7 separate regions of the Homo sapiens genome follow, and all the other regions are linked to region 1. Evidence: promoter capture Hi-C in 16 types of primary human blood cells and fetal thymus (Javierre and others, 2016). All regions are on one chromosome and are shown on one strand. The core of a region is centred on a gene start or on the middle of the fragment in contact, and the rest is flanking DNA. Distances in the headings are between cores, read along the strand shown.

Evidence for each region. Contacts are between HindIII fragments. The CHiCAGO score rates a contact against its expected background, and 5 or more counts as called.
Region 2: a fragment that was not itself captured here is called in contact with the fragment with the promoter of SCG5 in region 1 in 1 of 17 cell types (M1 macrophages); the score reaches 6.4 in M1 macrophages.
Region 3: a contact is called between a fragment that was not itself captured here and the fragment with the promoter of SCG5 in region 1, in 1 of 17 cell types (M2 macrophages). The highest score is 5.7, in M2 macrophages.
Region 4: a contact is called between a fragment that was not itself captured here and the fragment with the promoter of SCG5 in region 1, in 2 of 17 cell types (M1 macrophages and M2 macrophages). The highest score is 5.6, in M1 macrophages.
Region 5: a contact is called between a fragment that was not itself captured here and the fragment with the promoter of SCG5 in region 1, in 4 of 17 cell types (M0 macrophages, M1 macrophages, M2 macrophages and 1 more). The highest score is 8.6, in M0 macrophages.
Region 6: a contact is called between a fragment that was not itself captured here and the fragment with the promoter of SCG5 in region 1, in 3 of 17 cell types (M1 macrophages, M2 macrophages and M0 macrophages). The highest score is 6.4, in M1 macrophages.
Region 7: a contact is called between a fragment that was not itself captured here and the fragment with the promoter of SCG5 in region 1, in 3 of 17 cell types (M1 macrophages, M2 macrophages and M0 macrophages). The highest score is 9.2, in M1 macrophages.

Annotation. Positions count from the first base shown.
Region 1 is chr15:32,639,528-32,643,651 of GRCh38, forward strand. SCG5 (secretogranin V) reads left to right here and starts at 2,183. Exons shown (of 6, transcript NM_001144757.3): 1 at 2,183-2,251; 2 at 4,059-4,124. The coding sequence starts at 4,066. ARHGAP11A-SCG5 (ARHGAP11A-SCG5 readthrough) reads left to right here. Exons shown (of 14, transcript NM_001368319.1): 10 at 4,059-4,124. It overlaps ARHGAP11A (Rho GTPase activating protein 11A), which reads left to right. Exons shown (of 12, transcript NM_014783.6): 12 at 1-414. RefSeq lists enhancers at 1,676-2,316, 2,317-2,955. The HindIII fragment of the contact is 7,166 bases long and covers 1-4,124 here.
Region 2 is chr15:33,140,723-33,144,846 of GRCh38, forward strand. All of the region lies in intron 4 of FMN1 (formin 1), which reads right to left. Among named protein-coding and RNA genes, the nearest start is that of FMN1, 52 kb to the right of the region's middle. The HindIII fragment of the contact is 1,394 bases long and covers 1,742-3,135 here.
Region 3 is chr15:33,119,470-33,123,593 of GRCh38, forward strand. All of the region lies in intron 4 of FMN1 (formin 1), which reads right to left. Among named protein-coding and RNA genes, the nearest start is that of FMN1, 73 kb to the right of the region's middle. The HindIII fragment of the contact is 5,184 bases long and covers 1-4,124 here.
Region 4 is chr15:33,091,979-33,096,102 of GRCh38, forward strand. All of the region lies in intron 4 of FMN1 (formin 1), which reads right to left. Among named protein-coding and RNA genes, the nearest start is that of FMN1, 100 kb to the right of the region's middle. The HindIII fragment of the contact is 1,238 bases long and covers 1,238-2,475 here.
Region 5 is chr15:33,070,813-33,074,936 of GRCh38, forward strand. All of the region lies in intron 5 of FMN1 (formin 1), which reads right to left. LOC124903459 (a long non-coding RNA gene) reads left to right here. Exons shown (of 2, transcript XR_007064574.1): 2 at 78-4,124. Among named protein-coding and RNA genes, the nearest start is that of FMN1, 120 kb to the right of the region's middle. The HindIII fragment of the contact is 2,701 bases long and covers 1,051-3,751 here.
Region 6 is chr15:33,050,300-33,054,423 of GRCh38, forward strand. The region is part of intron 6 of FMN1 (formin 1); the gene reads right to left. Among named protein-coding and RNA genes, the nearest start is that of FMN1, 140 kb to the right of the region's middle. The HindIII fragment of the contact is 4,366 bases long and covers 116-4,124 here.
Region 7 is chr15:33,025,451-33,029,574 of GRCh38, forward strand. All of the region lies in intron 6 of FMN1 (formin 1), which reads right to left. Among named protein-coding and RNA genes, the nearest start is that of FMN1, 170 kb to the right of the region's middle. The HindIII fragment of the contact is 1,897 bases long and covers 852-2,748 here.

The DNA of each region.
Region 1 (4,124 bases), core at 933-3,432:
ATCCATCAAGGGAAGGATGAAATGTTGAATTTGAAGACTAATTCAGTAAGAAGTCCTAGGGGTTTAACTGTACATACTACCTGAACTGGCTTTTCTGAGAGATGAATCAATAATGAAACATGTCTGTTTTAAAAACTACCACATGTGACTCCTATTTTTGTTAGCTGAAAGCTGCTATACGGAGTATTACAGGAATGTGAAGGTGACTAGCTTGAAGGTAGGGTAACTAGAGAGCCAGAAAAGTTTTGTTTTAAACTTGATTTAATGCGTTTTTATTTTTTCTTATACAAAATAGAGATAATGTTGCTAACTTCATGGAATATTTGAGGAAATGATATGAAAGTGTCTGGACGTGCAGTAACCTCATGGGTTCTTCTCACTGTCTTATAAATGTAAATAAAGATCTAATATTAATTTGGTTATCTAATAACAACTTAATACATAGAACTTAGTAGACTGCATGGCCACATTCTATAATATGATCACTAAGAACTTAATGTAGGATTTTAATAGTCATGTTTTTCTTAATTGTGGCAGAATTTAAACCTTAATTTTGTGATCTTTTTTAGTTAGTTTGTTTTTTGTTTTCTTTTCTTTTTTTTTTTTTTTTTTTTTTGAGGCGGAGTCTCACTCTGTCGTCCAGGCTGGAGTGCAGTGGCACAATCTCAGCTCACCGCAACCTCCATCTCCCGAGTTCAAGCGATTCTTCTGCCTCAGCCTCCCAAGTAGTTGGGACTACAGGCATGCACCACCACGCCCAGCTAATTTTTGTAGTTTTAGTAGATACGGGATTTCACCATATTGGCCAGGCTGATCTCGAACTCCTGACCTTGTGATCCTCCCACCTTGGCCTCCCAAAGTGTTGGGATTATGGGCGTGAGCCACTGCACCTAACCTCTGTGATCTCTTAAATATATATGAAGTTTTATTTTTGAAACACCAAATTTCAAATGAAGCATAGGCATTTTGATCTATTTCAGTTAAATTTAACACAAAAGCAGTAAATTGTAGTGACTTCATTTTTTTCAACCACAAAATGAAGATAACAATGAACAAAGCTAAAGTAAAACTCAGAATTGAAAAAAGTCTCTGTGCATCAATAATAAATACTAACTCCAGCATGGCCAGTGAGCCTAGAGCCATTTAATGGATAGTGTTTGTCCTGTTGATTTAGCATGCATTGAAACAAGAAGCAAGAAGCAGATGAGCATCCGTGAAAGAAAAAGTACTGGGAAAGAGGCTTGGCTTCAAAATGAAAGGCCATGTGTCTCATAAATGAATTTTGCCAGCCTCTATTTATTGCATAAAAATTGCTGTAGATGATAATGGATTTGCTCTCTAGAGCTAAGATAAATAGATCTGGATTCTAACCTCATCAGGTTACTTGTTTTGAGACCCCCAGGTTCTTTACTCATCCTCCATCTTGATCAAATTTGTAGTGCCATATTTATTGTATGGCTTTACATTTTGATTTTAGTATTTGAACAAATTTCAGTGTTCAAGATTGCACATAGTAGGTGCTCCATAAACCCTTATTTAAGAATCTGGGACTACCTGGACATACTTCTACAGTATGCTGGGAGTATGGTTTCTCTTCAGGCCAAAGTGGAATTTTACTTGATGGTTTGTGTGGACGTTTAGAAATAACACTCAGAGCTGATATTTCTACAGATTTTCAAGTTTATCACTTTAATGGAAGTTTCTGGCTTCTTGTATTAAATATCCCCATAGTTTTCCTGATTAGTAAGAGGCCCCTCAGAGCAGGGTATACCTTATCATAGCCACCATTAAAAGTTCTTAGGACTTCATCTTTTGTCTCTCTACCATTCATTGCCTCTTCCCTCTTGAAGCTGAAAGGCTTTAGACACAAAAACAAAAAACATATTCTAGAAGTTGACAAAATTAAAGGTGTGCTGTAGTGGTGATCTGGCACGTTGTAATTGAGACTGAGGAGGTGAATGACTTACATGGAGGTCGATGGAGCTGAAGAGGGTCTCTAGGAAATGTCATAGTCAAGAGGTTTGTATGCAGAATGTGGGGGTTGAAGAGCTGTGCGGCTCCTGGTGAGAGGCACACTTATCTGGGATGCAGTCTGGGGAGTCCTGGCGAGGCAGCTTCCACCTGCTGGAGGAGGGGCCGGGGCGGAGCTAAGATGCGGAGGAGGGTGACGCACTAGCTCTCCAGTTCGCCCGTTCCTGGCCTGACCCCCACCAAGGCCCATACCGCAGTAGGCTCCTCGGGCTGCCCCTCGGTGAGTACAGTTTTGATGTCGGCTCGGCCGCCTGCCGCCAACCCGAGATTTGGTATTGCCAGTTGTGGGAGGGCGTCCTGCTAAAATCCTTGAGGTGGAGGCTGGGGTCAGACGAAGGATGCGTAGGGGATTAGAATGTTTGGCTATCAGTAAGGGGAAGGGAGTACTGAGGGAGGAGATTGTGTAGTTCATCAAATCAGAGCGGCGTTTGCTGGGATGACATCCTGCATTCAGAGTGGACAAGGGAAAGATGGAGATGGAGAGCCTCGTGTCTGCCTCCAGCCTTTTCCATCAGAATTGCAGATTTTGCTGTTAAACAGCTACTCTCAGCTCTTTGGAGAGCAAGGTTTTATATCTAGTGGCTAGAAAAGGCCTTTTCTTTGCAGAAAAAGAAATTGGAGGGTATAAAAATTTTTGTTTCAGTAAAGGAAATGCACGATTTTGCCTCCTCCCACCTCTCCATCCCCCATCCTCAGTAGAAGAATGATTAGAAGGAGGGTTTGCGCCGGTCCTGGTGGCTCACGCCTGTAATCCTAGCGCTTTGGGAGGCTGAGGGGAGGGGGTGGATCACCTGAGGTCAGGAGTTCGAGACCAGCCTGACCAATATGGTGAAACCCTGCCTCTATTAAAAATACAAAAATTAGCCGGGTTTGGTTGTGGGCGCCTGTAATTCCAGCTACTCGGGAGGCTGAGGCAGGAGAATCACTTGAACCTGGGAGGTGGAGGTTGCAGTGAGTCGAGATGGCGCCACTGCACTCCAGCCTGGGCAACAAGAGTGAAACTCCGTCTCAAAAAAAAAAAAAAAAAAAAAAAAAAAGGGTTTGCAAGGCCGCTGCCTGAAGCATGCATCCAAACACGTTAAGCAGCTGTGGGGTAAGCTGCAAGGATAATGTTCACTTGTTTTGCAGACATACCCATAGAAACCAACATTTTGGACAGGTTGACCCTCCCACCCCCAGGCTAGTTAACTCCCTCTCACCACCACTGCCTCCCCATATTCTAACCTCCAGAACTGTTAAGGCAATGTTAGCAACATAATAATAGCAATATAGGGGCTCATTCTGTGCCTGGCATTGTCCTAAACACTCTTAACATGTATTTGCACACACCCTCACAACAACCCTAAAAGGTAAATGCTTTAATTATCTCCGTTTTGCAGAGGAGGAAACTGAGGGACTTGCCTACGATCACTCAGCATGTGGCTGAGCAAACAAACCTCAAACTACCCCAGCAGATTGCAGGGCTGGATCTAAGGAACATTTTCCTTCCTTTCAGGATCGCAAACGTATTGGATGTTTGCTAAACTGAAATGTTTCCCTGCCACCACTCCCAACCTTCCTGAGCTTCTTGATTTGTGTCTTCCTGACTCCCTCCTGTTAGACTTTTATTCCCAGAGACTGGGAAAACCCAAGATGCCACTATCTCTTTCTCAAAATGTAAGCAAGTTTGGTTTATTTGTTTTAGTAAGAGAGGGAGAGAGTGATGAAGTTAGGAGTAATGCAGAACTTTCAGGGAGCTACAAGGAGGATAAAAATTATGAGTGAGAACCGCCATTCCAGCCTAGCTTTCTCAAGAATGCAAACAGAGGGAATTGGATACCTGCAACTGTTTTGTTTAATACCTTTCTGCAATGATGCTCTGCCTAGCATGGAAACTTAAGACAAAAGCAACCTCCTAAGGATTCTTTGTTACAACCCCTTTCTGGGTGGTCCTCGAACCACAACCTGGAGTGGTTGCATCATTATAATTGTATTATCACAATTGCCGATTGTAGCCTATCAGTATACATTTGGTCTTTTATCTGCAGGTTGACAATGGTCTCCAGGATGGTCTCTACCATGCTATCTGGCCTACTGTTTTGGCTGGCATCTGG
Region 2 (4,124 bases), core at 1,189-3,688, 500 kb after region 1:
TGTGTGCTAGGTCTTGACAGATGAGAAGTTTATCGTGGAAACAGCATGTGCAAAGGCACAGAAGTAAAGGAAGGAAGCAAAAGGAAGGGGAAGAAAAGAAAGGTAGAATATAAATTTGAAAAAATATTTTCCAATCTAATATGTATAAACTAGGATCTTATTTTAATTGTCATATTCCTAATTACTTGTGAGGCTAAGTATATTCTTATATACTGAATTCATCATTCAAACTTTCTTATAAGTGAATTGACTATCTCCTTTGCTCATTTTTTTCCTCCTGGGTAGTTTGCCTTTCTTTTATTAATTGATATGATTTCTTTACAAATGTTGGATGCTAATTATCAGTCATAATAGCTACAAATATCTCCTCCCAGCTTTTCTTCTTACTTTGTTAAATGATATCATCTGTCATAGTCAAATGCTTTTCCTTTAATTTTAATTTTATATTATTTAAATATAGACAAATTCACCAGTAATCTTCATTATGTTTTGTGCCTTTAAGAAACCCTTTCCTAATCCTTCCATATTTTCTTCTAAAAGCTGTTAAGTTTTCCTTTTCACATTTCAGTTCAAAATCCACCTGAAATAGATTTTTGTGCATGGCATAAGGTACATCCAACTGTTTTTTTTCCCCATAGGGATAACTAATTGTCCTAGCATCATTCATCAAATAATTTATCCTCTCCCATTACAAATAATGGGAGCTGTTATGGGTAACATAACGTCACCCATCACGGGTAGGATCCCCTGGAAAATAGACCCTGAAAAGAGATTCCATGCAGAAGGTTTAGTGGAGAGTGCTCTTTGGAGCAATACCTATGGGAAAGTGAGGGAAGCAGGATTGGAGAAGATGCAATTTTGACAGAGGCCTCAGGTGATAATGTAGGGAGCATGGAGACTGGGATGGCCCTTCAGAACTGCCCTACAAAAGGCAATGGTGCTGAGCTTCCGTACTCTCACACACAGATAAGTCATTGGTCAGGCCTGCGCTTGAGAAGAAGGTGTAATCTTGGGAGTACCTCCCCCCTTGCAGCTGAGTACCTCCCCAGGAACTGCCCTCTGCAAATGACACTTCAGATGGAACCTCAAAATGGCAGAGGTAGCTCCCATTTGGAGAGGGCAGTTCCTGGGGAGGCACTCAGCTGTAAGCCTTTGGCTGGCAATGCTCCCAGCAGCGGAGAGAACAGGGTGTTAGTCTTGCAAGGGGGATCTGGGTGGCGCACACAGCATACACTATACCAACTTGCTCATGTATCACTTTGACATTGTGATACATGGGCTACGCTGTTTAGTATAACTCTTTTCCCCATGAAATAATTTTCAGATATGTTTCCATTCTGGTCACCAACACGTAATCTAATCTGTCAATAATGCCCTTCAAATATGTACCTATAACTATACCAACAACTCCAGATTCATCAGACTCTATAAAGTACAGAAGCACATTTTCTCCCTTGATATGAATATCTATTTCTAATGTAGCCTGACTTTTTGTTCTCAACAGCTATACATTACCCAACTGGCTCAAAATCAATATGCTGTCAGCTAAAACAGAAACTGAGGTCCCTGATGTCCTTTACCTGTAAGTGGATAGTTTAATCTCAATGCAGGATTTTTCCATTATCCTCTTGAGTTTAATCTTGTTCCATTTAACTTAGGAAAATTTAACAAGCTGTGATTCTGTCACCTAACACCTCTCGCTGTTTCAATTTTTCTCTAAATTTGATACAGGATGCCAAAAAGCTTTTAAAAAGAAAATCCCATGAGGGCAGAGAGCAGCGATGAGGCTTGTGGCATGCCAATGATACCCTGACTTCTACTTCCACTCTCAGAAACCCATCCCATAACCCATCTGTAAAGATCTTGCTCTGCTAGGTAATATTAATAGCAGGAATTTTTTCAGCATATTAATATAATGACTTACAGTGAGTTTTGTACATAGCTTTTGGAAACCAATCACATGACCTCAACTTACATTTGCATTATACACAAGTTTTCTAGCAACAGTGCTTACACAGAAGGGAAACTTCCATGGTGGGCATTAGGCACCCAGCTGGTGAGCCTTGCAGAACTCCCTGAATCACAGCCTACAAGAGTTACAGGTCCCTGCCTGGCCTTCTAGTTCACCAATGTGTTGGGCTATAAAATGTACCTTGGTTCAGACGTGCTGTCCTTTGATCATGGATAATGCAACATGGTTAATCTGTGACCAGTGAAGTACATGAAACATTAAACCGCCTCTGGTTTCTGTTTCAAGTTTGATCACTTGACTGCCCCTCAGTAACTGGATTTTACAATGAAGTTAAATCTCATTTAAAAATGTAAAGCTGTCTGTTCTGGTAAAGCCAATCATATGTTGTAAAGTTATTCCATTTAAAAGATCAGTTTCTTTGTTCCCCAAAGGTTTGACTTTGAGTACCCAAGTTCCATTTAATTCTACTCACATCTCTGAGTACATTTAGATTCCCAAACCCATGCAGAGATGAATAGTTTCAAGGTTAGTTAAAAATAAAAAAAGCATTTTCTAGCAAAATAGGGTAACAGCATCTAACATTGATAATAATCACATGATATGACATGAAACCAGTTTCATTGTTTAACATAGGAAAAATGTGAAAAATGTGTCCCTGTTACCAGTTTTCAGACTAAGTTATCTCATCATTAATCCATCCATTTATTCATTCATTCAATAGAACACTTACTGAGTATATGTCATTGGTCAGTTTCAGTAACTGACCCAGGTATACAATGATGAATGTGATACCATTGCTATCTTTGAGGAGAGATTTTTTTAAAAACCAAAAATAAAGAGACATCTGTTTCCATTTTGAAGTGTTCTATCACTAGCAGAAACAGGTTCCAAATGAAGATGGGACACCAAGAACAAAGCAAGGCAAACCCATTTTACTCTGCTGGGTGGCATGTCAGCTGCAGGAATTCCCAATCATCCTGTCTGATTACTCCTAAGGACAATTTGTCGCTTGCAGCCACTGCCTTATCACTGTAAGTTGGAAGGTTGTTTTTAATTAAAGTCAACAATCATAATTTTCTTAAAAGAATCAGTACCTATTAATTTACTGTTTATGAAACTGCAAAGCATGCATCCAAAGTAAAAGATAAGGTCCTACATTCAAAAGCTTGATAAGAGCTAAAGATTAAGTTCTTTATCACAGAAGAATCGCTGAGTTAATATTATAAAAATACAGATGAGAGGCAGATAATATGTCTTGAGGTCCAAAACCTATCGCCTTGATAGAAATATGATATGGAAATCAGTAGGGACAAAATTACTATTAGATGCAGAAATTGAGAACACTTTGAAGAGAGAAAATGTGACTTCACGTGATTCAGAAATGATTGGGAGGAAGAAAGGGGACCTTTGTTTTTCTTTTCTTTTGCTCTTTCATCCTTTAAGATTTCACACTGAAATGACATTAGTAGTCAGACATACCATTCCAATTCCTTTCTGACTTGATTTAATTTAGAAAATTTTAAAACCCTGATTTAATTCAAAGGCTACCGAGTGAGCCAGTTTGAAGCTAGACACTGTGGGGAGTACCTCAGAGGTATCCTATACGATCTCTGCCCTCAAGTTTTTTTATTAATGCAAATTAGGTAGAAATCCAATATTAGGCCGGGCATGGTGGCTCACTCCTGTAATCCCAGCACTTTGGGAGGCCGAGGTGGGCGGATCATGAGGTCAGGAGATCAAGACCATCCTGGCTAACACGGTGAAACCCCCATCTCCAGTAAAAATACAAAAAATTAGCCGGGCGTGGTGGCAGGTGCCTGTAGTCCCAGGCTACTCGGGAGGCTGAGGCAGGAGAATGGCATGAACCCGGGAGGCGGAACTTGCAGTGAGCCGAGATTGCGCCACTGCACTCCAGCCTGGGCGACAGAGCTAGACTCCGTCTGAAAAAAAAAAAAAAAAAAAGAGAAATCCAATATTAACCTACACAAAACAATAAAATATCGATAAAGATGCTATATAAGTAAGTGCCTTAAAAAACAAGCAGCAAATGTAGCAGCTTTAATCAAGAACAAATCAGCAAATCCACATCGAATAAACAACTCATTGTGAGCTATTCTTTGTAGCATCATTTCATCATTGGAAAATACCAAAA
Region 3 (4,124 bases), core at 1,115-3,614, 480 kb after region 1:
CCCAGGAGGAGACTCTGCCAAGCATTAATGAGTCCACCGTCCGTACGCTCAGTGGGCCAGACAGGTTTCGCCACTTTATAGCCCTATTAATGATAAAACTTTCTGTAAAAAACCAGCACTATTCTTGAAGAGCTTGCTTTTATTTTCTTTCTCTTTCAAGGGATAGAAGTGATCACTCTGTTTTACAAAAGATGTTTTCAGTTAAACACAAAACTTCCAAAAATTTTTTCATTTTTTTGAATCATCTCTCAAAACTAAGCTCTCATATTCTAAAAACTGTTTGTACTATATTCGTCTTTAAAATGTGTTAGGAATTTCATTTTCAGATTTTGAAAGCCAGTCTTCTTCTTTGCTCTCATAAAATGACCTCCCCATCACTAGGTTTAGCCTTGCATGTAAACTATGAAAAATCACTGTATAATTATCTTAATGAGACTTTGTGTTTATATTGTGTCTTCTATCTAAAGAGCTCAAAGCGTTTTGCAAACATGATCTTATTAAGCGTCACAACACCTCATTCAGGAATGCGATGGTAAGGATTATTATTATCAATTTTAACAGGTGGGGAAACTAAGAGATTAGCAATTAAATGACTCAATTTGAGGTTACAATGTTAGTTAAAGGCACAGTTTGATTCAGGACTCTGACATCTATTTCCAAGGACATACCCAAGTGACCAATGGAGAGCAGCATAGTGAAATGAAAATTGTTTTTCACTTCTCAGAAATAATCTGTTCTTTTGCTCTACGGCTTTGAAGAACATTAAACATAAGGCAATTACAAAATAATTTGTTTACAAAACTTGGCACACCCTGCTAAAGATAGCAGATGTGCTAACTCCAGTCACTTTATTCTCCTTGCTGACCCTTTCCAAGGGCCATCATCATCTTCCAGGTCAATGGATTAGGTTACCAGTTGTGCCCATAGTGTTTACAGAGTGGTTAGCTACTGCACTTTTCCTACACACCGGCAGGGAAGACATGTTCAAAGTTAGCCATCTAGTGCATGTTTATTGGTGGACATTCCAGCAACAAGGAATTGTATAATCCAAAAAATGAGAAAACCTCATGTCGCCAACCCCAGAGATTACTATTTTTTTATGTGGGGATATACGAACACACACGTAGTGATACCAAGATACTGTTCGGCAGCTTTTGTTGTCTTTTCGTGTTCTGGTATTCCTGGATCATTGGTGTGTCAGTTCATATATATCTACATCATTCTTTTAAGTGACTACATACCCATTTTACAGACATATATATAAGATATGGAAAAATTTATTCTACCTATTACCCTTTTACTGCACATTTGGTTTTTTTAATCCTATGAACATTCTTGCATGTTTATGTATTTTTAAAAGTATTTCTTTTGAATCTACTTTCCATTTTTTTACAAGCTCTCCAGGACTCTTTCTTCTGAAAATATACCTGTTGCACTATACACTGAACTACTTATAGTACAGTAAGCCCATCATCTTGGATGCAAAGTAAATTCACCTCTTTTCCTCCCATTGCTTCTTGATAGAGGTTTTAGTCTTAATTATAGGATAGTACTCTGCCTTCATTCATATAACCCAAAAATGTAAACTGGAGAACCTTCCACATGGGACAGATGAAAGGTTGGCTAGATGATGTTGTAACAAGAGTATACAATACCCCATCTATGATTTACAGTCTACTTTCTCCAAGGACTTAGATCAACAACAACAAAAAATTAAACTCTTGCCTTTTATCAATAGAGCAGTGGGTCCTGTGTCTTGAAACAAAAAGTATTCTGCAAATAAAACTTCATCATATGCCTGATTCTGAGTTTCAATACCACAATGACCAATTACTTTGTACCTCTGCTCCCTCAGACCACATGGCGGATTCAGGGTCACATTCAATGCCAGTGTCAATATTGTTTACAATGTTCTGGACTGTCTATAAATTGAGAGCACAAAGGGAGAAACTCATTCCCTCATTTCCAGTATTACATGTAGTTCTATATGATACAAAGGTAGAAATCATTTGTCTATTACACCATTTCCCAGTAAAGTACATAGTTGACAAGTTGGTTTTGTTTTGTTTGTTTTGTTTTTTAGATAGTCTTGCTCTGTCGCCAGGGTAGAGTGCAGTGGCGCAATCTTGGCTCACTGCAACCTCCACCTCCCGGGTTCAACTGATTCTCGTGCCTCAGCCTCCTGAGTAGCTGGGATTACAGGTGTCAGCCACCATGCCCAGCTTCTTTTTGTATGTTTAGTAGAGACAAGATTTCACCATGTTGGCCAGGATGGTCTCAATCTCCTGACCCCTCAAGTGATCCGCCTGCCTCAGCCTCCCAAAGTGCTAGGATTATAGGCGTGAGCCACCACACCCGGCCAAATTTTTGTTTTTCTGTTTGTTTGAATTTTAGGAATTTGAAAACAAAAAGAAAGCAGTAGACTTAGAGCCACAATAAGAAAAATCTAGAACTTAATTAGGTCTCTCTCATTGTGTTACCAATTAATTCATTTATTCATTTACCAAAAGTGTACTGCAAGCAAACAATATGAAGAGGACACGATCTCTACTTTCAAGGAGCACAATACAGTCAGGCCAATAGACAAAGAACAGACAAATAAAGAATACTACTCTGGAAGTGCAGGAAAGGGCCTGGGAACTTTTACAGTTAACTACACAGTGAAACAAATTATCCCTTGTCCACGGAATTAAGTGCAATGTTCTTAGGTGAAACCTAAAAGATTGAAAACTCTGACCTATAGTCACCAAAAAAAGTGAATAAGCTAAGTCTTATTTATTCTTGTCATATTCCAATTTTGTGTTTCTACTCCGTAAAACGTTGTTGTGTTCCGCAAATTCAAGTAACCATGTAATTGTGCTTTAAAAGAAGAAAATTTTTTAACCCAGGCATGTATTAAACAATTTTCTCCCAAAAAGTACATGCCTGGTGGGAAAGTAAGGTAGGTCAGAGTAGGTTTTATAAAATTAGTATTGGCTTTAGACAGTACACATTGGCTCATCCTTTTACTGCTCAGCCCACAGTACATTTCATGTATACCTTCTAGATGTCCCAAGTATTTAAAATGCAACAGGATAAACAACCAGGCCAATATTCTGACATCACCTTCTAAACAGTACCACTAGCTAATGCAGCAGTAATAAAATCTAATGGCCACTAGTGACAGGTACAATGTGAGAGAGAAAACTTGGAGTTTGTGTCAAATCTAGGAACACTAAATTGGCACATGCTGGCCTATCCTACTCCAGGTTTGCTCCTTCAAAAAGCTAATGATGTGTGTCAACAAAGATTGACCACGGCAACAGATTGCTGCCATTATTCTGTTACATAATCTGAAAGAAGAGGGAACTGGAATATTTCTTATATATAGGAATAGAAAGAGATTGACATAGTATAGGCTATCCAATCTTGATAAAGCAAACCAACATCTATGCAGCATGTACTATGTGCCAGGCAGTGAGCTAAATGCTTTATATATACATGGCCTAACAATATCCTGCTAGGTAATTAATGTCACAAATAAAAAGACAGGCCGAGAGAGGTTAAGTAATCTGACCATGTTCACACAACTAAATAGGTTTACAGCATCTCCACATCCTTATAACTAAAGCCCAAATTGTAGAATCATCTAGAATGCCTTTCTTTCAACGTCATATCGTCAAGCCTTGTGGATCTATTTGCGCAATGTTTTCACATCCATCCACTTATTTCCAGGCCCAATTCAAGTCCCCATCAACTGGGGATCACCAACTGGCCTTCCTTTTTCTAACTTATTTCTGTCCACTCTGCTGCTTAATCTTTCCAAATCAAAACTGGGGTCATGTCACTCCTTTGCTCAAAGGCCTTCCATAGCTTTTCACCATCTACTGAATTAGGTAAATACTCCTGAATCTGGCATTCAAAGCCTACTGCACTATATAGTATACAGACTTGGTTCAAACAATGTTTGTTGAATGAATACATGGCACTAAGCTAAGACTCACTATCTGTGGCAATAGTTCCCCAAAGTAGTATCATAGCATATTAAGTAATAAATATGTCCTCAAAAGATAAATACAAGGCCTAGAATCTATTTCACCCTAAAACCAAGAATATTGAGGAAAAATTAAGTCTAACATATGGTA
Region 4 (4,124 bases), core at 607-3,106, 450 kb after region 1:
TACAAACCTGTTTTGTACTCAGTATTAGTTATTTTGTTCCTCAAAGACATTTCAACAGTTTGATCGATCACACATACACACACAGGTTATCTGTACAGCTGACCACGGTTAATACAACGTACAGCACAGTCACAGTAAAGGTAGGGTGACTTACCTTGGAACCACTTTGAAAGTCTGTGCTTTTCAAAGCCATTCACATGATGAGCTGCACTTCCTGATGCTAACCTACAACATCAGACTGAGGTTTTGCTGTCAATTATCAAAACAACAGAAGCAGACAGAATGCAAAGGTAATAATATGCCATTTAAAACAGGAGGCAGTGTCCACAGCTCATCTTTCCAAAATAGAATCAGTCTGTCTAGCAGGGGTACATTGGATTATTGTTCCCACTGTTTCACTCCCTCCCTGCAATATGATCACGCACCCACGGCCTTTTCTGGTCTATTTCCCCTGCCACGTGACTTCCTTTGGCCATCTGAATGTAAACAATGTGACAGTGTGCCAATTAAGGCTGTAAGACGCACGGTGTGTTTTCATGCCCCGCCCTGTGCTTCTGCCCTCACCATGAGACGAACATGGTCCTCGGGAGCTTCGAATGAGACGTGGAACATCTGTCCCAGGCACAGTCCTGCAAGCCTGGAGCCAAGCTCAGTCAAACCCAGGCCCAATCGAGTGAACCTTAGCCAACTCCCAGGCCAGTACGTAAAAACAATACATATTTATTATAAGCCACTGAGATTTGAGGCCTATTTGTTGAAATAGTTGCCTCATACACTATCATGTCTGCTCCCACTAGAAGCACTGTAATTATTAAAGACATTAAACCTTTTCAGCTGAGGGCTTAAACACAACAGTGTTTTTGTTTTGTAACTTGTACTGAAAAAAATTATTCAATGCACTGCAAGGATCTGAAAAATCAAGTGAAAAACTCATGGCACACCCATTTACTCATTCATACCAAGATTCATGCACAAACTACATTTTATTAAAAAGTTATTTACCAGATATTGTCTTTAATCGTCTAAGAATATACATATAAAAATATACCAATTTCCTAAAGGAAGTCTGTGAACATACTATATAACCAGCAGATCTGGACAAAAGTCCCTAAGGGACAAAATTACAGTGCCTTTTAAGCTGTTTCCTCTAATTCTCCCATCATACCAAGCCCTCACTTGACAGCAATGACGAAGTGGTTATGCATCCAGAAAGAGGAGAGAAAAAACAAAAACCCTAAGCTTAAAACTCTCCTCAGTTTTAGCTCCTGTGTTGTAGTGCCCAAGGCACTACATAAAATAAACCCTAAGAGGTAAAGTTTTCTCAGCCGTGAATATCAGAACTGATATGTACAGGTAGACATATCTTCCATTATGTTATTCAAACGTGTACTTACCAGCAAGAAAGACAGCAATCTAGATGTACAGCTAATGGAAAGTGACACTGCTAAGTGCTTGTGGAGTGGATGTGTGGCTGTGTGTGTAATCACTCATGTCTGTATCTAAGAAGACAGAGCTGTGGCAAAAGTATAGTCTCATGGCTGGTATCTGTCAATTAGAGATCAATGCTCACTAATGCAACTGCCCCCATTTTCATTCTCAGCAGTGTTAAATGACACAATGTCACCAAACCACCTAGGTAGATACAATTCTGAGAAGGTGTGGTATCTATCCACCCCAGCCTCTAACTCCTCACTGGGAAGTATGTGGGGAGAGAAATGATGAATGAGCAAAGATGGACAGGCGGAAGGTGTGGCCAGGCAGAGAAAGGCTGATGGCAAATCAAAAAGTAGCAGAGAGTGGGGAGCAAGCTCTGTAAGTCTGAACATTGATGAGGAAAGCATCCATAGCCATCAGGCAACTGCAATGTAGTTTGCATTTCTAAAATCATGCTTAAATTCAAATAAAATAAAACAAATTTACAGTTGGAAAGAATCTTGTATATCTCCCCACCTACATGCTCATTTTATAGTTGAGAGAACCAAAACCCATGAAGATTGCAGTATTTCCAACATGCCCAGCTAGCAGCAAAGGCAGAACTAAAATCTAAGTTCTTTATGCTATTTAGAGAAAGATATTATTGCCAGTCTCCAGATGAGAATATTGAGGGCTAAGAGAGAAGCAGACGTGAACAAGTTAAGAGCGTGGGTACAGGGCTTTAACATGTGGGCTAAATTCCTGGCTGTGACCTTTACTAATTATTTGACCTTGGTGAAGTTACCAAAACTCCCTGAGTCTTTTTCCCTCATCAATAAAATGAAGATAATAAGAATATGTCTGATATTGAACTAGGCTCACAATTATTTTCTTTCAGAAGACTTTTCCTGGGCTGGGGGATAGATAGATTTGATGGGAGAAGCAAGTAATTTCCTGTTTTAAGTAAAGAACTCTATATACAATGAGGGCATATCCAACATCACACAGTCATGTGAAAGGCTATTTTTCTTTTGTCAGAGAAGATAAGGAGAATAACAATAAAGCTTATAAGAATTCAGTTGCACTGCAGTGCAGCAGATCCTAAATCTGTTCATGTTCCAAAAATAGAATTCACGTCATCAAATGCAACAGCTCCAAGTAAGTGGCTGATCATCTCTGGAAACAACAGCTCCTCAGGGTCGTTCATAGATACCCTATGATACTCCTTCCCAGAAAGTCAAACATAGGAGCCTAGAGCCATGAATGGAACTATTTATAGTCATGCCTTTAAATGAAATAGCATTTTAAGGAAGTATATAAATATCTCTTTGATTATTTTATTAACCTCCTTCCACGGTTTTCTCCTGTGAAGAATACTAGTTGAGGGATGTGTATTACTCAGACTAGGAAACTTATGTGTGGCCATAGTTACACTGGATATTTTAACACTTGAAAAACAGGGGCACAGATGATGCTAACAATGGATAGAGCACCTAGGTAAGTCCTGATGCAGAAAAGATCAAGGAAAGAACAAATTTAGGAGATTGTAGGATTCACTGAGACATTAAAAGCCTCCGTCTACTCCCAGATAATAAATGCTCAAAACATTAGATGTTAGTACTTCAAATACTTAAGTGATCAAAAAATTTTAGTATGTTTGGTTATAAAGAATATGACCGGGTGCAGTGGCCCACCCCTGTAATTCCAGCACTTTGGGAAGCTGAGGTGGGCAGATCACTAGAGGTCAGGAGTTTGAGACCAGCCTGGCCAACATGGCAAAACCCCATCTCTACTGAAAATACAAAAAGTAACTGGGTGTGGTGGGTGGTGCCTGTAATCCCAGCTACTTGGAAGGCTGAGGCACAAGAATTGCTTGAACCCGGGAGGCAGAGGTTGCAGTGAGCCGAGATTGTGCCACTGCACTCCAGCCTGGGCAACAGAGTAAGACTGTCTCAAAAAAAACAAAAAGAAAAAAGAAAGAATATACTTGCTTGTTAACAAAAAACATGTATATATATTTTTGAGATGGAGTCTCACTGTGTCACCCAGGCTGGAGTGCAGTGGTATGATTACAACTCACTGTAGCCTTGGCCTCCTGTGCTCAGCAATCCTCCTGCCTCGGCCTCCCAAGTAGCTGGGACAACAGGTGTGCACCACCACACAAGGCTAGTTTTTAATTTTTTTTTGTAGAGATAGACTCTTGCTGTGTTGCCTCAAGTGATCCTACCACCTTGGCCTCTCAAAGTGTTGCGATTACAGGCATAAGTCATTGTGCCTGGCCCCAAAAATATTATTGAAGAATAAGAATGCAAAAAAAAGTCATATGGCATTCATTACAAGTAAATTTGAATAACATTTTCCCTTTTATGTCACATTATTCCAATTATTATGAGGATGGTTGCACCAGTGGGAAATCCAACTCTTGAAGACATATGATGTAATTACTGGTTGTCTTAATAGCTAAGGAAGTAAAGTAGAGAAAAAATTACAAAATACTAAGCCCTGGATTATGAAATATATAATAAATGATTTTTTTAAAAACTTCCTTTCCAAAAAGAAATGATCCTAGCAAACTCACAAAAAGGAATATACGTAACAAGGTAAATACCAAAAAAAAAAAAAGAAGGCACATTTACTATTAAATGTGATTGAGCATACACAATACAATTAAGAGACTGAAAATACAATATGGCTCTGAGTGTCCTTGCAAC
Region 5 (4,124 bases), core at 1,151-3,650, 430 kb after region 1:
ACACATATTAACTCACTTAATACAGATAACAACCATATTATGAGTTGTTATTATTATTATTCTCTTTTTCCTGCTAGAGAACCGAGGCACAGAAGATTAAAAGTCTTGCCAGTCCACAGAAACAGTGGATGGTGGAAGTATAATGTGAATCCATGCAGGCAGGCTCCAGCATCCACACTCTCAACCACTCTTCGAAAGCCCAGAGGCTCCACTTCCTTCCCGAATAGAAGACCACACACAGCGAGGTGCAAAGGTTTCAGCCCAGTTCATTGGTGGTCTTTAACTGGGATGTGAAGTATACTTTATCCTCTTAAATGACACAGAAGACAAACATCACCAAAAACAAACAAACAAACAAAAAACAACAACCTTATACTGAGGATGACTGTTCTTTTCTTTTGCATAACTTGGGGAAAAATCTACAAGTTTTCTTAGGAAAAAATGGAGAGAGAGGAAAGAAAAATCAAGCAAAAATTCCAGTAAACCTAGCTGGCCTATCTATCTAACACAGAAGAGACACGGAATCCTCTGGGCTCAAACACATCAAGGTTTTCCAGTTTGCCCCTACCATTCTCCTTCATTTATGAAGCATGACTTCTATTAAGAAGACTTCTTCATCCAATGTCATAAATGAGCACCAACAATGAATGAGGCTGTGAGGACATAAGAATGAAGATAGCCCTGCCTTCCACCTCCATGAAATGTGTAGTTTAGTTGGAGATCTCTATTTAGAAAGAGGAGACTCTTGTTTACAGACTGTAACCAAGGACTTTATCCCCCAGGTTCAGTCTAATAGTAATAGCTAGACCTGAAACAATTTTGAATGAAAGCCAGCAGTGACCATTTAAATATGAACACGAGTAACAGGAGCACGAGTAAGATTCAAAGAGATCTTTTAACACGGACTCTTTCAAGCCACTGGTTCTCATGACCATAAAAAATGTTACCACTGCTGGTCACTCAGGGAATGAGAGTGTTTCAGATTGTAATATTCAAATAAGCAACCTACAAATTCAATCTAAATTGGTCTTGAAAAATGAATCTCTTTAAAGCTTTAACATTTTCAGGGAGGATAGTAATCACTTCTCTTGGACATTATCTCAGTATCTATGTGCTGAAATAAGCACCTATTACACAAAACCAGCAGAAGCGAAGGCTTTCATCCTTTACAACCTACCTCAACTGATTCTCTTTTGTCTTGTCTTAACCTCAAGACAAACTCTCTAACTGCCACATCTGTGCAAAAATGATCTTCACCAAAACAAACAAACAAACAAAAAAACAACCTTATACTGAGGATGACCATTCTTTTCTTTTGAGTAACTTGGGGAAAAATCTACAAAAAATAATCTGTGCCAGATTAAAAATGATCCACCTCAGACAACCCACGTTTGAACTGTATGGGTTCACCTATACAATATGTTTTCAACCAAAAGAAGATGGAAAATGCAGTCTTCATGAGATGTGAAACCTGCACATATGAAGGGTTGACTTTTCAACTTTTCCTGTAAGTGGATTCCCAGAGCCTCCTGTGGGACTTGGGTATGAGAGGATTTGGGTATATGGGTGATCAATCTTCCAAGTAGATGGAGGGACAACTCTAAGTCAAAGGATACATGAGAAATAGGTAGCATTTGACCTACGTGATATTCTGTTATAACTCTGTTAAAAACAATCAGTACCTAGCTACTTAAAAATGTGAGCATAGTATTTGTGGAGAATTTACTAGCAGTGAATTCTTCATTTCTCCCATCTCACTGTCCTCTCAGCTGTACACAGATTGAAGGTGGAGCCAATTGTACCCCATGGCAAAAAGAACATCAGTCTAGGCTGGGCACAGTAGCTCACGCCTGTAATCCCAGCACTTTGGGAAGCCAAGGCAGGTGGATTACCTGAGGTCAGGAGTTCAAGACTAGCCTGGCCAACATGGCGAAATCCTGTCTCTACTAAAAATATAAAAATTAGCCAGGCATGGTGGTGGGCACCTGTAATCCCATCTACTTGGGAGGCTGAGGGAGGAGAATCACTTGAACCCATGAGGTGGAGGCTGCAGTGAGCCGAGATGCACCCCCTGCACTCCAGCCTGGGCAACAGAACAAGACTCCATCTCAAAAAAAAAAAAAAACAAAAACAGAACATCAGTCTAGTAAGTGTATACCTAGTGAGATAAGAACAATTGCAATAAAAGGCACATTATCTCCTATAGGCAGTAGAGCCTAGCTCCTTGACTTTCCTAATATTAGGAGATCAGCAATAAAAATTTTTAAATATCGTTTTGCGAAAACTGGACACTGAAAGAAACTTCTCTAAGGGCCCCCTTACTCTTTGTAGCACTTCTCGCTATTACTCAGTTTGGATAATTCACCCCCACATTCTCATCAGACTTCAGAAAGGCAACGTGAAAGTAAAGCAAACAGGATCGCATCTCACTGTTAGGCTACTTGTCATGATTCTCCTTGTCCAACTTATTTCAAGTTCTGGGCCTGATTTTAATGACAAATTGCTTCTAGCTTCCCAAAGTAGTTCAAATAGCTTCATGCGAAAACCGTTTGAAACAAAAAGTAGAAAGTGTAGTTAAACTTAGTAAGGGTAAATAAGAGTGAGGAAACTATTTCTGCAGGTGAAAAAAAGTTAAGAGCAATGTACTGGGAAAAATAAGTAAGTTCTGAATAAAGATATGGGTAGGTTAATGGGTGAAATCCTGGTTTCTTGGTTCAGGAAGCGTGTTTTAATTCAACAAACGGCATCTTGAACAAGAGGGGAGAGCTGAGGAAATTATAACATCATAAGGAGTCAAAAAAATGTCTGTAAAATGAGGGGTCATATAAAAGGAGTACAAGATTATGGAATAATTTGGGTAGAATCCAGTTGTTGTAAGGTTGAATGGGACCTTAGAAATAGTAGAAATTTACCTAGCTTGTTTTTTTTTTTTTTTTGAGACAGGGTCTCACTGCGTTACCCAGGCTGAAGTACAGTGGCACAATCACTGCTCAGGCAGCCTTCACCTCCCCTTGCTCAAATGATTCTCCCACCTCAGCCTCCTGAGCACCTGGGATTATAGTTGCGTGTCACCACGACCGACTAATTTTTGTATTTTTTCTAGAGACGGGGTTTCACCATGTTACCCAGGCTGGTCTCAAACTCCTGGCTTCAAGTAATCTGCCCACCTCGGCCCCCCAGTGTACTGGGGCTACAGGCATGAGCCACTGCCTCCGGCCTGGCTTGACCTTTTGTTTTAAAGATGAAGGCATTTGAGGTCAAGGGAAGCGGAACAACTGGCACCAGTTCATACTGCTCAAGTGCAGCACCCAGATGGGGAAAAAGGCATCCCATCTCCTGTTCACCCACATCACATCACCCTGCTGCTATGCTGTGGGATCTTACCTTCTTCCTGATCAGCATCTTCGTTATACTCATTTTCCACATCTTTGAAATGGAGACAACACCTTGCTTCTACCTAATTCACAGGAATATAAAGCCAAACAAAAGAAAAAGCCAGAGATACCCTTACACATCTAGTTTTGTAGCACTTTCCCTGCCTTCATGCTGTGGCGTTCCTCTGCCAATGCAACGCTTACAACAGCCTCTCTGGGTCATCCCATCAAAAGCCTGCAGCTGTTTTCACTAATTGGTTAAAAAGAAAACAGGCAGCACCTGCCTCTTGCAAGGACTGTGATTAAGGGCTTTTTTCTCTGTTGAAAAGTCTTAAGAGTAAAATATTTATAAGACTGGTTCCACTGGGCAGTATCAAAGCTTCTGTAGAAATGGATTGAATATAGATAACAAACTAGAAGAATCTAAAAGGAAAGGAGAAAGGCTGGGACATCTTGTGAAGCTTGAACAAAGGAAGACAGCAGTGGGTATGTAATCTTGTGATGACCAAGGAACACGGGCAGTGTGCATAGTTAAGAACAGGACCTCAGCCGGGTGCAGTGGCTCACGCCTGTAATCCTAGCACTTTGGGAGGCTGAGGCAGGCGGATCACTTGAGGCCAAGAGTTCAAGACCAGCCTGGTCAAGATGGTGGAACTCCGTCTCTACTAAAAATTCAAAAAAATTAGCCAGGCGTGGTGGTGGTGTGCGCCTGTAGTCCCAGCTACTCGGGAGGCTGAGGCAGGAGAATCG
Region 6 (4,124 bases), core at 1,049-3,548, 410 kb after region 1:
ACTACATAAAACTTTTGTATAATGAAAGACACCATGAAAGAAGAGTCATGGCAAGTTAGAGCCTAAGATTCCAATACATACAATGATAAAAGGATTTTTTTTTTAATACATAGAAAGCTTCTTCAAATCAGTAAGAAAAATGACTAAGAACCTCATTTTCAAAAGGACCAAGAACACCAGGAAGCTCATAAGAAATCCAACTGGTCAATAAATGAAAAGATGTCCAACACCACTTATATCAGAAAAATACAAATTTAAAAAACAGTGTGTGATTTTTAACCCATTACATAGGCATAAATTAAATAAATGCTGGTGAAGTATGAGTAATGGGCATTCTTTCTTTGGTTTAATATTCTGAGAGGCCAACTGTGTAGTATCTACCAAGTAATGGGCCAGGACACAACAATTCCACTTCAGTCCTATCAAGGTACTCACAGGTATGCATAAACCAAATATACAAGAATTTAATGACAGCATTATTTGCAAACAGTGAAAGATTCTGAGCAATCAAAAGGTTCATTACTACAGGCATAGGTCTATAAATTACTACTGTATGGAATACTATGCAGCCATTAAAATAATGAGGAAGAGGGAGAGTGCCCTGTATGCACTGACATAGAAAGGTTTCAGTATATGGTAAAAAGCAGCTCATCTTAGAACAGATTTTATAGTATGACCCCACTTGTGTGGAAATATTTTGTGATGTGCCACTCAGTGTATACGTATTCATGAGTGCATATACAAGTGTGTGAGAAGCAATGTAAGTAACTGTTCACAAGGACCCCCCCTTTAAGAAGGCAGAGGGATCGGGGGATATAGAGTGAAGGATGATTTTTGCTTTTTCCTCTATATATATACCATTCTCTGAATTAGGTATGATCATTCCAGGGTATGTTCCTTGGATTTTTTACACTGCTTCCTTCTATCCTTCCTGAGAATCAGATGTGTCCTCTTTAATCAGAATTGAATAAAACAGTCTGGGAAAGGTTAAGGTGAATTATGGCTGGGCTGAAAGAAATGGGGGCCACATTAAAAATGGAAAGAAAAAACTAAACTGGAAGTCAGAAGACCAACTTTCTAGTCCTGGTTCTGTTGTTACAGTAGGTAGCTAGTCAGACATGAGCAGGGCAGGAGAGGGTCCCCTGCCACCACCAGGATGTCGGGCAACCATCAGGTGATAGGTGGTTGTGACAGTGCCGCTCTAATAATTGGTCACACCTGGTGCCAGAGAAAGGCAGTCTCCCAATAGATATAAACACCTGAAACTGGTGATCAGCAGCTTCCTAGTAAGATCTCAGGAGTTGGGTGAGTGGGCTCAAGCATGGGCATGAAGAGGCAAAACAGCAGAGTTTTTAGCTGGTATATGACCTTCCTCTAGAAACGCTTGACTGGTTAGGGAAAAATGCCTCAAGTGAGCACGTGTACAACTCCAATAAACACACTGTACATGCAGCCCCTCCCAAGTGCTGGCAGGCCACTGCACATGCTGATAGCCCACTCCAAGGGAGGAATCCGGGGAGAAGGACGCAAGACCCCGGAAGCATACCAACATATAAAACCCCAAGTCAAAGGTCAAACACTGCACTTGATCTCTCAAGTAACCCACTTGGCCCTGTTCTAAGTGTATTTTACTTCCTTTTGTTCCAGCTCTAAAGTTTTTTAATCAACTTTCACTCCTGCTCTAAAACTTGCCTTCGTCTCTCACTCTGCTGCCTTATGTCCCTTGGTCAAATTCTTTCTTCTGAGGAGGAAAGAATTGAGGCCGATGCTAACACTATCACTAATTAGCAAATGTGATAACCTTTCTGGACATCTATTTCTCTGTAATAAGGAGAGAGCTAAACCTGATATTCTCCAAGGTTCCTTCCAGTTCAAAGAACACATGAATACTATACATAACTATGCTGGTGTCTTAGCCTTGAGATTCTAGTTTCCCAACTGAAATGTCTGAAAATACTTGATTTAAAATATTTTATTAAAATTATCATCAGCATGTAGCCACTAAAAATGGTTACTAGGAAGACTACAGAAAAAACATGGAAAACATTGATAGGATAAAAAGGAACTCGATAAAAATGCTGGGTTCAGCATGGACACAACCATGCAAATACACGTGCATGGAATCAAAGACTTAAACAAATACACAAAAAGGAAAACAGTTACTTCACCTGTCTGATGTCTTTTTCTGACACCAACCAATTCTCCAATAGCAACACCAATTCTCTGATGTCAACTGGGTGTCCTACAATTCAATTCAATTCAATTCAATTCTGACACCAGAGTTAGCATCAGACTCCAGGTTTACAGGCTCAGCCCCACAATGATAGTGACAGGAGGCAGCCAAATACCTAGGCAGATAAGGGTGGATCCCTGGTGAAACCCCACCTCAAAGCTAAAGACAGTTTAAAGCCTGAAAGCCAAGCTGTAAGTTAAATCCTTGGACCAGACTGAGAACTTATCTTCCCATTTGATGCGTTTTCCTCTGATTGATCCCCACCCTTCCCCTATTTTATATACACCTACCCTTTTCTAATTGGTTTTCTACACTGTCATGCCCACCTTTGAGTGGTGTCTTTACTTTAACCTTTTTTGCATATTCACAAACCAATCAGCATGCACTACCCATTGTGAGTCCATAAAATGCCCCAGACCCAACCACAGGCAGAGAAACCACCTGACTGTGGGGGTGTGGGATCATCCCCCACTCCCCACAGTCCCTTCTCTGCTGAAAGTTGTTCCATTGTTCAATAAAATCCTCCACTCTCATCACCCTTCAATCGTCAGTGTGACCTCATTCTTCTTGAACGCTGGACAAGAGCTTGGGACCCACTGAGTGCAGGTACTCTGAAAGGCTGTAGAACTAGGCCTTTGCCCTCACTGGTGGACGCCAGCCAACTGCTGACTGGGCTGCTAACACACCACCATCCACCCGGCTGCAGACAGCAGAACTAAAAAAACTAATTAGCACACTAACATTCCCTCTGGGGCTTTGGGGTCGCAGGCACCCCTGCCTGGGCATTGCCACATTCCCCTTGAGGTAACATGCCTGGTCTGGCAATGGGCACTGCACAGAAGTTGCTCCTATGTTGGCACTTGGAGCTGCCAGCCAAACCCTGCACTCGTTCACTCATGTGCTCACTCCCACAAGGGGCTGAGTGCAGCATGCCGAGTAGACGGGGTGCCCCTGCTGCAAGTTCGGGAAAGGGGCCAAGAAGAATCCTGCTTCAACAAGACTGCCCTCATTTTGGAGGCCAATAGCAAGTACTGGGTCCTCAGAATATCCATACATCTGACTAACTTGGCTACAAACTTCGGTGTTCCCACAATACTCCCCATCTCAAGTTTGATAATTTCCTGGAAAAGACTCACAGACCTAAAAAAAAAATGCTGTCTGTATTGTTATAATGTATTATAAAGAATACAAATGAGCTGCCAAATGGAGAGGTATAGGTGAAGTCCAGAAGGGTCTCCAGTAAAGGGAGTCTCTGCCCCTGTGGAGCTGAGGCATGCTACTTTTCCAACGTGAGGATGTGTTCGTTAACTCAGAAACTCTCCAGATGCTATGGTTTAGCGTTCTTTCCTTTCTTTGTTTTCTTTTTTCCTTTTCTTTTCTTTCTTTCGGAGTTTTTAATGTAGATTTCACTACGTAGGCATGATTGAGTAAGTAAATCACTGGACACTGGTGAATGAACTCAATCTCCAGTGCCTCTCCTCTCCCTGAGAGTTGAGGAGGTGCTAAAAAATCCAACCCTCTAACGAAGATGTGAACCTTCCGGTGTCCAACCCCCATCCTGAAACTTTCTAGGGGCCTTACCAGGAGTCATCTCATTTGCATAAACTCAAGTACAGTTGAAATGGGCTCATTGAATAATAAAAAATCCACATATTACTCCTATTTCTCAGGAAATTCAAAGGGTTTTAGGAGATCTGTGCCTGGAAATAGAGACAAAGACCAAAAATATATTTCCTACTGTACAACTAAATATACATTTCTGCTTACACTCCACCATCTCACCAAGATGTTCTTTAAGAGTATTTCTACAATCCTGTAAATTAAAAGGTTAGATTTTTTTCATCTAAATATTCTTATATTTATTAAGTCCTCAACTATGACTATGGCATCA
Region 7 (4,124 bases), core at 550-3,049, 390 kb after region 1:
AAATTCTTCAAATACTGTCACACAGGCCATGCAAAAGTAATGCTTTCTATAATGCAATTAAATTAAAATCCACAATAAAATGATAAGCTAAAAACAATTAAAAGAAACTTTAAAAACCTAAAATTAACAAATCTATTTCAGCAATTTGTGAAACCCAACCAACCAACAAAGCAATTATGCGGCGTTTGTTCTAAGAATGTAGGAACTATATATTATCTGAAAATTTATCAGTGGTATCTCACATTAACATACTAATGGAGAAAACCTATTGTATCTCAAAATCTCAAAATGATACAGAATGACACAGATAAGGCTCCACATCATTCTTTGATTTTAAAAAGAAAAAAATCTTCTTAGCTAAGTTAGAATAGAAGAGAATCAGATTCAGAATATCTTTCAAGAACTTTCAACAAACTTTGAAAGTAACGGGAAAACTTCAGGAGGCACGATTTAAAATGCACACCATTACCCACATTTTCCTACATTAAACTAGAGGCGTGAGATAATGTGCTAAGAAAAGAGATGTAAGAATTGGAAAAGAAGAGATAAAACTGGTAATGTTTACAATGATATGGCTCTCAAAACTTACACTGTGACAGCATCTGAATGGGGTTTAAAAAACCCATGCTATATATTGCTTAGGCATACACACACACACACACACACACACACACACACACACAGAGGTTGATTGTAAACAGCAACCCACAGAGTTCTGCATGGTGGTAGCCACACATGAATGCTGGGAGAGTTAATCATCTCTGGGGAAAGAGGCAGAGAAATTGAATAAAGGGAGGTAACAAAAGGGGCCTCAACACTGGTTTTAAAAATCTAAAGAAAATATGATAAAAAGCTTAAGTATAGATGGTTAATATATAAATACTAACTCTACTTTATTCTATTTGTTTGAAATTATTCAGGATCCTTCTTTATAAACATTAGAGGATACGTCCAAATTTTCACACACACACACACACACACACACACACTTCTGTTTATAAGACTAGGTTTAGCCTTATAATCAGTGAGGAAAAAATTGCCTACCTCAAACAGAATGTACACTCAAACAATATATAAAGTACTTGTAAGAAAAAGCATATTCCTCATATAATACATATATGATTTTATATCATGATTATATAATGCATATATAAGCATTGGTTGACTTGACTGAAAATGGTAGAAGAATCTCTGTCCTTAGCTTGTGCTTTGACTCAGTAACTGACAGAGCCTTTTATTTAAAGCTGACAAAATGAACCTCAGGAGAGAGAGGTGAAGGTCAGTCTCTTAAGAGGCAGGTGAAAGTCAGCCAGATTTAACTCGACAGAGAGTGGAATTTTCTAGTAAACCAGGCCAGACAAGTACCCAGGAGGCCAGGCTACCTGCCCAGGTTTCTAAGGGAGACAGGACACTTGCATTTCCCACGTGGTGGAAAAGTACTCCAAAATATGTAACATATTGCAGCTGTCACTGGGCTTACTGCCTCTAAGAATAAGGTCCTATTTTGCATTGCTCCTACCATTCAAAATTTAAGATCTGAATTTGTGTGGAGTGTGGGGGTGCTGTTTTTAAATCTGCATCTCTCAATCCTAACACTAAAGACAAGAAAGCCTAACAGACATATTTTTTTTTTAATGCAAAAGTTTGGAATAGAAAACTAAGAAACAGCTTCCTATAGAAATATGGGAAGAGGTAAGCTCACATCAAGAGTACACAGGCCAGAAAATACGGACAGCACTCTGGTCTTCTAGTCCAGAAGCCTAGCCCATACCTCCACAGGGTGCCAGGAGATATGAGCTATACCTATTTTCTATTTTAATTTAGAAAATAAAAGTACAGGGTGCTCAGTTAAATGTAAACTTCAGAATAATAACAGATAATTTTTTAGTATAAGTGTGTCCCATTCAATATTTGAAATATACTAAGTAATTACTCATTCACTCAGTTCACATCTTGTGTTTTATCTGGCAACTCTAGGAACTCTTAAGTATTCTTAGTGAGAACTGTATGCAATGGGCCAGGAATTTAAAGAAATTGGGGACTACATTTGCACACAGGTGGAAACAGAGCCAACTAGAATCACGGACAGCCAGAAACACTAGTTTTAGACATTTCAGTTTAACGTGCCCTTTTCAAATCTTCTGGGGTTTTGTTGTTGCTTTATGGTAGTAGTTTTAGCTTTGTTTTTCCCCCAAGTAATCTGATCTTTCCTGATAACCGACTTTCTCATAACTGATACAGTGAGAAACGATCTAGTGTTCAAAGTGAACGGGATAAACAATAAAAGAACAAATGAAATGGAGACAACACACACACACGAATATACATACACAGCACCTGTTGTCCCTTCTTGTAGAGGGTTAGAAATATGACAGACAAGAGCATATGAAGAAAAGCACACACTGATTCACAGCCAAAATACAGTTGCTGCTCAAAGGTTGTACTAACAGGCTTCTGAAAATCAGTCATCCACATCTCACCACCTGTGATCCCGCTACAGTGTTACTAGCATCAAAATGAGAAAAGATGAACTGGAGAAGCAACCAGCTCACTTGGGCAAGTCAAAATTTCTCCATGAGCCAGCCTATTTAATCCCTACCCCCATAAAGCGTTTATTCCAGTGGCTTTAAACATTGACTACATATTACAATCACCTGGGGAGGTTTAAAATTTACTTATGTCTGGATTCCAGCCCTAGACATAGACTTAATTGGCATGAGATGCGTGTTAGGAGCTGGAATTTTTAAAAGCTTTCCAGGTGACTCTGATAGACATCCAAAGTCAAGAACTGCATTTGTAAGTTATCCCCAAACAGTGACACCTGGGGAAGGCCAGAAAGTGACACGTGTATATAGATTATAAAAAGTAAGCTCCTACATTTGACTCTCACTCCAAGCTCTCTGCTATCCAAGTTGATAAGGCCACAAAAGTGAACTTTGCAGTGAGCCAAGAGCTAATATAAAGGAACTGGGTTCTTCCTTACCCTACACAAGTTGCCCTGAAATTCTAGCAACTGGAAATAATGCTCAAATGCTGGAAAAAACATATAAAGAACTACAGAGGAAAAAATAAAAATAAAAATAAAAATAAATAAATAAATAAAAATTTTTAAAAAGGCAAGATACTTTTGGAAATCCCACTTTACTGGCAAAACTCAAGATAATCTGTGAGATCATTTTTGAAATGCACCATCTGGGCAGCATGTGAAGGATATCAGCTCATTTCATAGAAATGTTCGGTTTCATCTGGTAGCAAACCTCAAGGGGCTGCTGGCCACGTGCCCTATCCAATCTCTGGGGTAGAACCTGGTCAGAAAACACATTCTTCTTCCCCAGATGCCCCAGTCTGAGGCTCAAGGCAAACTCTTGATTAACTCTAATACAGAAACAAAATACTTCTTAAGTTTCTTCAAATGCTCCCTCCCTCCTATTGATCCGACGCTAGTCCAAACAACAAGTCATTTTCACTAGTTTGAAAATAATAAAATAGAAAACAGATAAATTTGCCACCACAAAAAGAACACAACTTCCTGGTTTCTGTGACAAGTAAGAATGTTTCACCTAAGAAATGACATTGTCAGAAGTAATATCTATCTGCAAATTGAAGCTGATTTGAAGAAATACACTTAAATAATACCATAAAAATCAGAATCTTAAGGACAGAGTCTCAGAGGTCACTTAGACTAACCCCCTTCCTCAAAATACATAAAGAAACTAAGAAATGAATACCCAAATAAACTGACTCATTCGATTTATAGCATAGAGAATCTCAGCTCCATATGCAGGTGGAAACACATTTTATGAACACACAAGGAAAAAAAAAATCACATGGCTGTTCAGCAGAGCACAGGTCTCCTGACCTTTCTAATATATTTTCTACCATACTCTGAAGCCTCTTTATGGCTTTTAAATGAGGTCAAATGCTCAGGGTAAAGGGAGAGAGAGAGAGAACTAGATGTTCTGAGGGAGATGGAAAATACTTGAAATAGCAGCTGTTGAGAGTCGCGTGTAGACTAGGAACACACGCTAGGGATGGAGGACCTGTTTGTAACTAGAAACCACAAATCCACACAGTGGCAGAACCTTGACAGTTGTATTAGTTTTCCTCAATAGCTTTTGTAGTCC